Linked DNA regions of Homo sapiens: all the other regions are linked to region 2. The links are contacts of gene promoters, found by promoter capture Hi-C in blood cells and fetal thymus (Javierre and others, 2016). All regions are on one chromosome and are shown on one strand. Each heading gives the region's core, a stretch centred on a gene start or on the middle of the fragment in contact. The rest is flanking DNA. Distances are from core to core; before and after follow the strand shown.

Region 1 (3,428 bases), core at 289-2,788, 140 kb after region 2:
TTTCTCCCAGAACAGAGGCCTGTAAGGAAAAAAATCCTACCATGTGCCCTCAGCATTCTGGCATATTTTAGATATTGGGGATATAGTAATGGATCCTGAGAAATGACTCAATCTCTTATCAGTTTTTTGGGTATTTCTCAGGGCAATAAGACAGCATCCTCCAGAGGAGGTCTAATAACTCCAGAGAGTAAAAAGAGCTCGTACCAGTGTGAGTGTGCTCTCTGCACAAGTCTTTTGCAACATGTCCAAGGGTGCATGGCTGCTTGGGTGACCAGCCATCTCAGTCTGCCCAGATCATGAGATTATGGGATGTGGGGATTTCAGAACCCAAACTGGGAATGTCCTAGGCAAACTGGGACATGTTGGTAACTCTGATAAGGATTTTCATTGCAAAATGAGCATAGCTCAGTTCTTTACTCTTTGCCAGATTGTTCAAAGAGAATTTCTGTGTTTACCAAGAATGATGACAGGCCACTAAGCGTCTTCAGGACCTTTTTGTCCCTCTTTACCAATCCAGGTCATCTGATTTTCTCAAGGAGCAGCTCTAGATTCATTCATTTTATGATTTTGTTCTCAAATTCATTTCACAAAAATCTCCCTTTGTTTAATATGCCTCACTGGTATTACTCATATTGTTGTTGTTTTTCCATGGCAGAAATACACATTTTGGTTGCTCAGTAAACTTGTATCTGCACGTTTCCTCATCTCACTCTTGGCCCTTTGTGCTTTCCTTTTCTCACCCTCTGGAAATTCCAGATATATCACTATTGCTAAAAGTTTCACCAAGAAAGGGTAAGCCTAGGAGAAGAGGTGAAACTACATTTTGTTACCAACTGGTAAAATATCCTCGTTTGTGAGTGTGTGATGCCAACTAAAAGTATCTTCTCTTTTCCTTTGGTTACACTGAAAAATGAGGTGAGGGGAATTTAACAACTTGGTGGATCATCAAGATGGTTTGTGAATCCTCTCTTGATTCCAAGAGGTAAATTTAGCAGGAATTATTACTCTCCTTTTAGTGATGAGGAAATGCGTAAAGTGAAGAAAGGTGACTTGCCTATGCCATGCAACAAGTGAGGGTTAGAGAGGCCCCACCACAAAGTGAACCTGTGCGTCAGTGAGATCCAAGTCTAGTGCACTGGGCTTTTATTAGTTTGTTTTTCCTAATTAAAACATGCAGTTGTTGGAACTGCATAAAAGGAAGGAAAAGTAATACAAAACTGTGTAAGAGGTTTTGTGCAGCACTGGTAAGAGCCGCGCCACATGGTGGACTGCCTGCCCTGCATGGTGAGCTGGCTGAGTGATCCAGTTAAACTGCACTCTCAGTGCTGGCTTGATTATCACAGAGCTTCCAATTCATCATTAACAAACAGTGTAAGGACAGAAGATGAGAAGAGCATAGCCATTCAGTAGTAGGACAGTGATTCATGCCACATGTGTCTCATAATGGCTGGAAGTGAGCTGGGAGGGCTGTGATTGTGTTCAGTGATTTTGCTCTGACTGTATCATCCTTTGTGTAAGAACCCAAGTGCCAAACAAGCAGCTAAAACTTAACACAGAGAATTTGTAGAATGTCTAAAAAATAGTTTGATTCTCTTAAAAGACAGGTACCATATAAGGTGATACTATAATTATATAAATGTTTTGTAATTGTGTGGTATACCTACAATTCAAGTATAAAGCATGTACTTTAAAAAGTGATTTACATCAGTACACCTGGTCAGTCTGCTAATAGTAGCTTGGCAGTAATACTACTTAACAGCTGGGGGCTTTCCCTCCATTGCTCTACACCTGACATGCATTTCTCAAAGGAAATCAAGTAGGTCTAAGAAAGCTCCTGATACCATTTAGTTTCTCATTTCCCTGTGAATAACAAGAATAAGTATGGACTAAGTCCCTGGAATGCTCCTAAAATGTAATAAAATAATGATATGATGAATTTAAAACTTTCATAGCCCCAGTATTAAATATGCCATTAGTTATTATTCTTGTGGTTATCTAAGCTGAAAAGGGGTTGAAGAAGTGGTAAACGCATCAACAGGCTATATTTCCAACTTCTGTTGGTGGAATAATGGCCTGCCATTCTCCAAAAGATTCTGTGGCCTAAAGTTAGTGGGGTGGACTGGGTGGATCCTCGGTGGAATCCATTGTGTCATTTCTGACTGTCTTAATGTTTTAGTGAGACCTAACTTATAAATATATGCTCTTCTAGTTGCTCTTTTATATTGATAATGGAGGCTTACCAGATCTGAGCTGCCTGCACACTTTGAAAGTGAAAAGAGCAGACAAGGTGCTGGCTACCTGACCGGGCAGTGTGAGAGCTGGATTTTGTAGGGAGGCTTGATGCAAGGATTGAGCATCCCTCAGTCTGCCTTAAGTATGATCAGCATGCATGTCCTCAATCCCAGGGTGACAGGGAGGAAGAGATGGGCCAGCAGGGTCCACTGCACTGACCCAGGGTGACAGGGAGGCATGGTGACCCCACATCTCTCAGACACAGGAACAGGCCAGGCCTGCATGGTAGCAAGGGGCTAATATTGTTATGGTATTTTCTACCCTGTTCTCTTAGTTTTATCTTATCTAGAGATGACAGACTTTAAATTTGTTTTCTCCAGCACAGCCTGAGAGTGTGGGGAAATGGCCTGGAATAGCCAGGCCTGGCTTACCACCTCAGATGATACAGAACCAGAGCTCTTCCTCTAACACCATGCCAGAGTCAGCGAGGCAGGAGCTGTGCTGAGGGGAGGCGGTGGCGGGGGAAATGAGGTGCTCCTCCAAACCCAATTTCAGACTAAATCAGAAATTTTACTTGCTAAAATCTGGAGACTTCGAAATGATTTTTTTGGTTTGTTTTTGTTTTTAAGACAGGGTCTTACTGTGTCACCCAGGCTAGAGTGCAGTGGCATAGTCACAGCTCACTGCAACCTCTACCTCTTGGCTAAGACTACGTGCACCACCACCATGCCAACTAATTTTGTATTTTTTATAGAGGTGGAGTCTTGTTGTGTTGCCCAGGCTGATCTCGAACTCTTGGGCTCAAGTGATCCGCCCGCCTTGGCCTCCCAAAGTGCTGGGATTATAGGCATGAGCCACCACACCCAGCCCAAAATGTTAAACATGGAAGTAGTAATCTTTTAAATCCTAGAATATTAAAATGATACTAATACAGTAAAGAAAAAATTCTTTTCTTCTTTAAAGATCCAATAAATAAGCCATACATGTATATATTAATCAATCAGATATATTCTGTGTGCTGCTGTTAGAGATTTGTGGTGTCTTAACACGTTTGGGTAGAGATTTCTTACACTGTTTGCTAATGATTGCTGTAAGTAATTGTTTTCTTGTTCATTTTAATGTATAGTGACTGTTACTACCTGAATAGATTGTAAGCTTATTTGAGGACCATTAAACTCAGCCCACTACATTTTACA
Region 2 (3,668 bases), core at 768-3,267:
TGGATAACGTGAAAAATGGCTGTGGAGGTTTAGATTTAGAACCAGTTATTCCAAGTTACAGAGTCATACAAACTGGCAAACAGTATAGAAAATATATGATGATCTTACATTTTTTCAGGTCCGCTTCTGCTACACTGATGTTGATATATGCAAAAACTTTCTGTGGGTTTCCTAAAAAACAAACAAACAAACAAACAAAACAATTTATTTAAATTCTTATCCAGAGAGCAATGTAAAAACGGTTGTTTCTAAATTAAAAAAAAAAATAGCTCTTGAAAACTTATTATTTCAAAGATAAACCTTGTTTTTTATTGGCTATAAAAATAAGCATAATTATCAAAATATTCCAAAAAAAAAAAGAAGAAAATGTCCAGTAGTCAGATAAGGAAACATTTTGATTGTATGCTAGTGATAGTCTACTTAACGGGACACTTAATCCATGTTAGAAAATTCTAGTTCTCAAAACTGGAAGTTAATATGTTTCTGAAATCAGATGTTTTAGAATTTGGAATTTTTTCTTATTTCAGAAACAAATTCTGGTCAAGTTCCACATCACACATTATACCTCCACAACATCACTTAAAACTTTTGGTGTTCAGAGCTAACATTTATCTTGGGGTTGTTTTATTTTCTAGCACTTAACCTGAGTTATGTCTGCCTATAACTGCCCAGTGAAGGACCATAAATTACCTTGGTCATCTTTCCGTGTGATGATCTCCACATCCGAAACTTCTCCAAATCTGCTGAACTGATTTTGTAGGTCTGCCTCAGAAATGTCCTGGCTAAGGCCACCCACATAAAGGCGCTTCGTTTCTCTGTTCACTTTCATGAAGGCTGGGCATATACTTGGGTGTGTTTCAGTGGGAAAAGTAATTTTCTGTATACAGAGAAGAGTTCTTTCCCTTAGTTCTTCTAAAATCTAACAAAACAACTACTTCCTCTGAACCTTCTGTATCAAATCCGTCTCCTGGATCTGTATTTCACTTCCTATTGTATTACTTCCAAATTTTAGTCTTCGAGGTTTTGCCCAAGCCCTACATCCACATCTTTCATGAATGCACTTTGGAACAGCAACCCCATACCCATATAGACACAGGTACAGACAGAGTTTTTTTCCTCCAAATGGCCATAATATTACACTCTATCCCTCTTAATTTTATGTATTCATGTTTTTAGATGTTTTTCCTTGACTCACTCATACATTCATTTACTGTCTTTAACAAAGTCTGACAGAAACAGGATGTAACGCACTAAAAGATAAAAAGAGCTAGCCTACCTCTTCCTAATTGTCTCCACCCCCAACCTACCCACCCCAGCCTTCTTCCTCCTAGAAGACCCAAAGAAGTGAATAGAGAGGCTAGGAGCTCCTTATAGTCACAAAAGAATAAAACAAATGGCACAATATTATGTCACAATAAAAGTGCTGCAAAGTGGGGTTCAGACACAAAGATCAAGGGATATAGCGAATACAGACTTGTGTTTTTGCTATGTGCCTGCATTGTACAAAGTAGTTTGCATGTTTCCCATTTTTCAGGAGAGCAGAAGAGGTTAAGTCACTTCCTCAATGCCATACCGAAAATTAGTGAATCCAGGATTATAATGCAGGTCTACCTTCAGAACTTGGAATTCTTAACACTATACTATGAAGGTTGCTGTATCACAGGGGACTCAGGAAAACTTTTCCAGAGGTACTAGGGCCCATCATAGTATCTCTCATTTCGTTTAGCACCCGGCAGGCGCTCAGCTCTCGCCCTTCCCTTCCCCAAGAGCTGACAGACTCTTTCCAGAAGAGACTCCCAACCAGCGTCCACCACATGGCGTGTATTCTGGGCAGAACTTCGGCCTACCTCTTCCCGATAGTCTCCGCCCCCAGCCTACCCACGGCAGCCTTCTTTCTCTGAGAAGACCCAAAGAAGTGAAGAGAGACTAGGAAACGGCCCTGTGACTTCTCATGCCCGAAACCCACTCCTCACCACGTCGTTCACCTAAAGCCAGCGCCGCTGCAGCCCCTAACTTCTGGTCACGTGTCCCAACGGAGCATCCTCTCTTCCTTCCTACTCGATTTCCAACCCAGCCTCCTAAGGTTCCGTTACCACAATTCAGTTCCCAAGAGCTTTTAATTTCCTTTTCCGTCCTCCCACCTTCCCTGACGCCTCCGTCACCTCCCCCTCAACGACTGCAAAAGAGCCTAAACCAAAATCCCCTAGTTTCTATTGAACACTATCGCTGTGTGTACCAATTCCTGGACTAGGTCGGCGTAAGAGAGGAAGTAGGTGAAAAAAATAAAGAGGCGCTCCCCTCCACGTGATCCCAGCCCTGCCTCTTTAGTGAGGCACGCGGCCGGGCGGCTCCAAGGCTGCCGGCTAGGGTGAGCAGCGGAGCGCTTGGGCTTGGAGTAGCAAAGAACGCGCTCTCCAGAGAAAGTATAGCCACTGCTTAGACAGCCAGGGAAACGTGTGCGGGGAAGTGGAGGACTCAGGCTCTCGTGCGAGAGCGGAGTTGGACGTGCAGGGCCGCTGGGGTCACGCGGAGCTCTCCCGCCTCCCCTCCGCGTGAGCTCTGGGATGGTCCGCGCCGGGAGCGCGCGCGAGGCTTGAAGCGCGGGTGAAGCGCGCAGGTCGGAGTGACAGCTGCGCTGCCGGCCCGGCTGCGGTCAGCAACGCGCCATGGACGCAGAGCTGGCAGAGGTGCGCGCCTTGCAAGCTGAGATCGCGGCCCTGCGGCGAGCGTGTGAGGACCCACCGGCGCCCTGGGAAGAGAAGTCCCGAGTCCAGTACGTGACCACCCCAAGTCCCCCAGGGCCCGCTGGCCAGGGTTCCCGGGCCAGGCGGGTGAATCTCCACAGACATCCTCGGTCTCCTACTCCCAGCCCTAGAAAGTGGGCATGAACTGGCATTGATCCTGTCATGACGATGGCCTAGAGTTGGGAGCAGCGCGTACGGCGCCCAGCTGTAAACGCATTGCAGGGTATTAACTCGTTTAATCGCAGTCGTCTGTGTGGATGACTGACAAGGAGGAAGTCTTGACTATATCCCTAGCTAGATAATTCCGCCTCCAGTATGCAGAAGTATCTCTAGTTGGGATTTAATAACTCCGTTTGGTTTCATGGCATTTGTTTTGGTAGGTCAGCTAACCATCTCAACTGATAATGACTTTGTGTTTACGATGACATAAAAATTCCTTTGAAAAATAACTTCGGTAAAAAACTAAGTTGATAAAAGAAAAGTAGTTAATATAGACTGCAGGAGAATTTGACATTCCTCTGAGGTAGGTGCTACTGTTAGCCCTGTTTTATAGTTGAAGAAACTGAGGCTCAGAGAAGTTAGGTAGCTTGTCCAAGGTTCCAGAGAAAGGAATTGTCAGAGATGGATTGGGACCCAAAAATTTTACTCCAAAGTCTGGGCACTTTTGGTTTATTGAAGGAGAGGGAGAGAAAAGCTCTGCAACCGTAATTATGTATTATCATCTCAAACATAGAAGCCTCTCGAAAACATAAACTGTCTTCAATTTTTGAGTCAAGAGTAATTTGACATAGGTGCAGAAAGAATGGGATTTTTCCTGAGCTAACTGGAGAAGAATTGGTAGAAAATGGGAAGGAGGAGATCTACAGAAAATGTCTGCGTGCGGTCATGAAAGTAGAGGAAGCTGTGACTGGTTAAAGGGAGAGG
Region 3 (3,733 bases), core at 21-2,520, 250 kb after region 2:
ATGTAAAACCTAAAAGTATAATAGTCTTAGAAAACAGGAAAAGCTTCACTACATTGGATTTGGCAAGTGATTTCTTAGATATGACAGCAAAGGTATAGTCAACTTAAGGAGAAGAGACAGATTGGACTTAGTGAAAATGTAAAAGTTTTGTGTACTAACAGACATTATGAACAGTGAAAAGGCAACTCACAAATAGGACAAAATTTTGCAAATCATGTATCTGATAAGGGATTATAATACAGAATATAAAGAGAACTCCTAAAACTCAACACCAAAACAACTCTGTTCAAAAATGGGCAAAGGACTTGAATAGACATTTCTCCAAGAACATATACACAAATGGCCATTAAGTACATGAAGAGATGCTCAACATCACTAATCATTAGGGAGCTACAAATTAAAATACAGTGAGATACCACCTCACACCCATTAGAATGTCTCCTATCCAGGCTGGGCGCGGTGGCTCACGCCTGTAATCTCAGCACTTTGGGAGGCCAAGGCAGGCAGATCACGAGGTCAGGAGTTCAAGACCAGCCTGGCCAACATGGTGAAACCCCGTGTCTACTGAAAGTACAAAAATTAGCTGGGCATGATGGCGTACACCTGTAATCCCAGCTACTTGTGGGGTTGAGACAGGAGAATTGCGTGAACCTGGGAGGTGGAGGTTGCAGTGAGCCGAGATTGCACCACTGCTCTCCAGCCTGGGTGACAGAGTGAGACTCCATTTCAAAAAAAAAAAGAATGTCTCCTATCCAAAAAACAGAAAATAACAAGCACTGGCAAGAAAGTAGAAAAATTAGAACCGTTGCGCGCTGTTATAGTAGGGATATAAAATGGTACAGCTGCTATAGAAAACAGCATAGCAGTTCCTAAGAAAATTAAAAATAGAATTACCATGTGATCCACTGATTTCACCTGAGGTACATGCCAGAATAACTGAAAGCAGAGTCTTCAGATATTTCTACCCCTATGTTCACAGCAGCATTATTCACCGTAGCTATAACATTGGAAGCAATCCAAGTGTTCATCAAAGGATAAATAGATAAACAAATGCAGTCTGTCCATATAATGGAATATTATTCAGCTTAAAAAGGAAGGAAATTCTGATATGTGCTACAAAATGGATGAAGTTTGTGGACATTATGCTAAGTGATATAGCCAGTCACAAAAAGACAAATACTGTATGATTTCACTTACATGAGGTACTTAGAGTAGTCTAAATAGGAGAGATTTAGGGTGGTTGCTAAAGGCAAAGGGAGGAAGGAATGGGGAGTCAGTGTTTAATAGGTGTCAAGTTTCGATTTTACAACAGGAAAACAGTTATGAAAATGGACAGTGGTGATGGTTGCACAACATTATGAATATATTTAATAGCACTAAACTTAAACCACTTAAAAGTGGTTAAGATGATAAATTTTATGTTATCTGTATTTTACAACAATAATTTTTAAAAATCATAATGCATTGTATGCCTGTTTGTTGATGTGGGATATTTATTATGGGATATGTATATCTATTGATATCTCATATCAATAAATAGGCATACAATGCATTAAGATTTAAATAATAATTGTTATATATAATGTTTATTATTTAAATCATAATGCATTACATGTGTATACATAATGGCTTAAATATGATTTAAATCATATTTTGGCAGTGTCTCAGCCTCTCCCAAAGTGTACAGATTATTACAGGCATGAGCCACCATGCCAGGCCAGAATATATCTTGGAAACAGTAAATAAGTAGTATGTATGGCAGGTAAAGACAGACAACTCAGTATGAAAATAGGTAAGCAATTTGATCAGACCGTTTGCACCAAAAATACTAACAAAATTCAAATGGTGAGTAAACAAATGTAAGTGTTAAATCCATTAATAAAAGAAAAGCAATTTTAAATCATTATGAGATTCCATAGCATACCTACCAGAATGGTGGGTATTAAAAAGAATATTAAAAAGACTAACCCTGCCAATTATTAGGATATGGAACAATAGATATTCTCATATACTGCTGATGGAACTGTAAACTGACAAAAATACTTAGACATTATCTGTAAAATTTGAAGATTCACATATCCCTAGGTGTGTGTGTATATATATATCCAAAGAAACATGTGCACATGTATATCAAGAAACACGCACAGGGGCTGGGTGCAGTGGCTCACGGCTGTAATCCCAGCACTTTAGGAGGCTGAGGCAGGCTGATCACTTGAGGCCAGGAGTTCAAGACCAGCCTGGCCAACATGGCAAAACCCTGTCTCTACTAAAAATACAAAATATTAGCTGGGCATGGTGGCGGGCACCTGTAGTCCTCACTACTCGGGAGGCTGTGATGTATTCTTATTATGAAATACCATTTAGAATTGAGAAGAACAACACCATGGAGCTACATACGACATCATAAATGAATCTCCCAAACAAAATACTGAGCAATATAAGTCAAAATATATGTTTTATGATTCTATATACATGAAGTTTAGAAACAGGCAAAAAAATAAGCTTTCTTGTTTAGGGGTGCATACTTAAGTAAGGAAAAAATCTAAGGGAAAAGAAAAGCAAGGAAGGTATTTGTAGAAAAATCAAGATAGCTGGGCATAATGTTATGCCCCTATAGTCCCAGCTACTTGGAAGCTGAGGTGGGAAGATTGAGCCCAGGAGTTCAAGTCTGGCCCGGGCAACACAGGGAGACCCTATCTTTTATTTATTTATTTATTTATTTATTATTATTATACTTTAAGTTTTAGGGTACATGTGCACAATGTGCAGGTTAGTTACATATGTATACATGTGCCATGCTGGTGCACTGCACCCACTAACTCATCATCTACCATTAGGTATATCTCCCAATGCTATCCCTCCCCCCTCCCCCCACCCCACAACAGTCCCCAGAGTGTGATGTTCCCCTTCCTGTGTCCATGTGTTCTCATTGTTCAGTTCCCACCTATGAGTGAGAATATGCAGTGTTTGGTTTTTTGTTCTTGCAATAGTTTACTGAGAATGATTATTTCCAATTTTATCCATGTCCCTACAAAGGACATGAACTCGTCATTTTTTATGGCTGCATAGTATTCCATGGTGTATATGTGCCACATTTTCTTAATCCAGTCTATCATTGTTGGGCATTTGGGTTGGTTCCAAGTCTTTGCTATTGTGAATAATGCCGCAGTAAACATACGTGTGCATGTGTCTTTATAGCAGCATGATTTATAGTCCTTTGGGTATATACCCAGTAATGCGATGGCTGGGTCTAATGGTATTTCTAGTTCTAGATCCCTGAGGAATTGCCACACTGACTTCCACAATGGTTGAACTAGTTTACAGTCCCACCAACAGTGTAAAAGTGTTCCTATTTCTCCACATCCTCTCCAGCACCTGTTGTTTCCTGACTTTTTAATGACTGCCATTCTAACTGGTGTGAGATGGTATCTCATTGTGGTTTTGATTTGCATTTCTCTGATGGTCAGTGATGGTGAGCATTTTTTCATGTGTCTGTTGGCTGCATAAATGTCTTCTTTTGAGAAGTGTCTGTTCATGTCCTTTGCCCACTTTTTGATGGGGTTGTTTGTTTTTTTCTTGTAAATTTGTTGGAGTTCATTGTAGATTCTGGATATTAGCCCTTTGTCAGATGAGTAGGTTGCGAAAATTTTCTCCCATTCTGTAGGTTGCCTGTTCACTCTGATGGTAGTTTCTTTTGCTGTGCAGAAGCTCTTTAGTTTAATTAGATCCCATT

What was found. The method cuts DNA at HindIII sites, captures the fragments that hold promoters and counts their contacts. A CHiCAGO score of 5 or more calls a contact.
Region 1: a fragment that was not itself captured here is called in contact with the fragment with the promoter of NOL8 in region 2 in 1 of 17 cell types (megakaryocytes); the score reaches 5.4 in megakaryocytes.
Region 3: a contact is called between a fragment that was not itself captured here and the fragment with the promoter of NOL8 in region 2, in 1 of 17 cell types (M2 macrophages). The highest score is 6.0, in M2 macrophages.

The regions. Positions count from the first base shown.
Region 1 is chr9:92,467,028-92,470,455 of GRCh38, forward strand. All of the region lies in intron 5 of CENPP (centromere protein P), which reads left to right. All of the region lies in intron 3 of ASPN (asporin), which reads right to left. Among named protein-coding and RNA genes, the nearest start is that of ASPN, 14 kb to the right of the region's middle. The HindIII fragment of the contact is 3,693 bases long and covers 1-3,385 here.
Region 2 is chr9:92,323,333-92,327,000 of GRCh38, forward strand. NOL8 (nucleolar protein 8) reads right to left here and starts at 2,018. Exons shown (of 17, transcript NM_017948.6): 1 at 1,974-2,018; 2 at 691-877; 3 at 109-171. The coding sequence starts at 829. CENPP (centromere protein P) reads left to right here and starts at 2,621. Exons shown (of 8, transcript NM_001012267.3): 1 at 2,621-2,773. The coding sequence starts at 2,667. RefSeq lists enhancers at 1,300-2,188, 1,967-2,086, 2,117-2,226. The HindIII fragment of the contact is 10,709 bases long and covers 1-3,668 here.
Region 3 is chr9:92,575,084-92,578,816 of GRCh38, forward strand. The region is part of intron 5 of CENPP (centromere protein P); the gene reads left to right. Among named protein-coding and RNA genes, the nearest start is that of ECM2, 41 kb to the left of the region's middle. The HindIII fragment of the contact is 2,459 bases long and covers 42-2,500 here.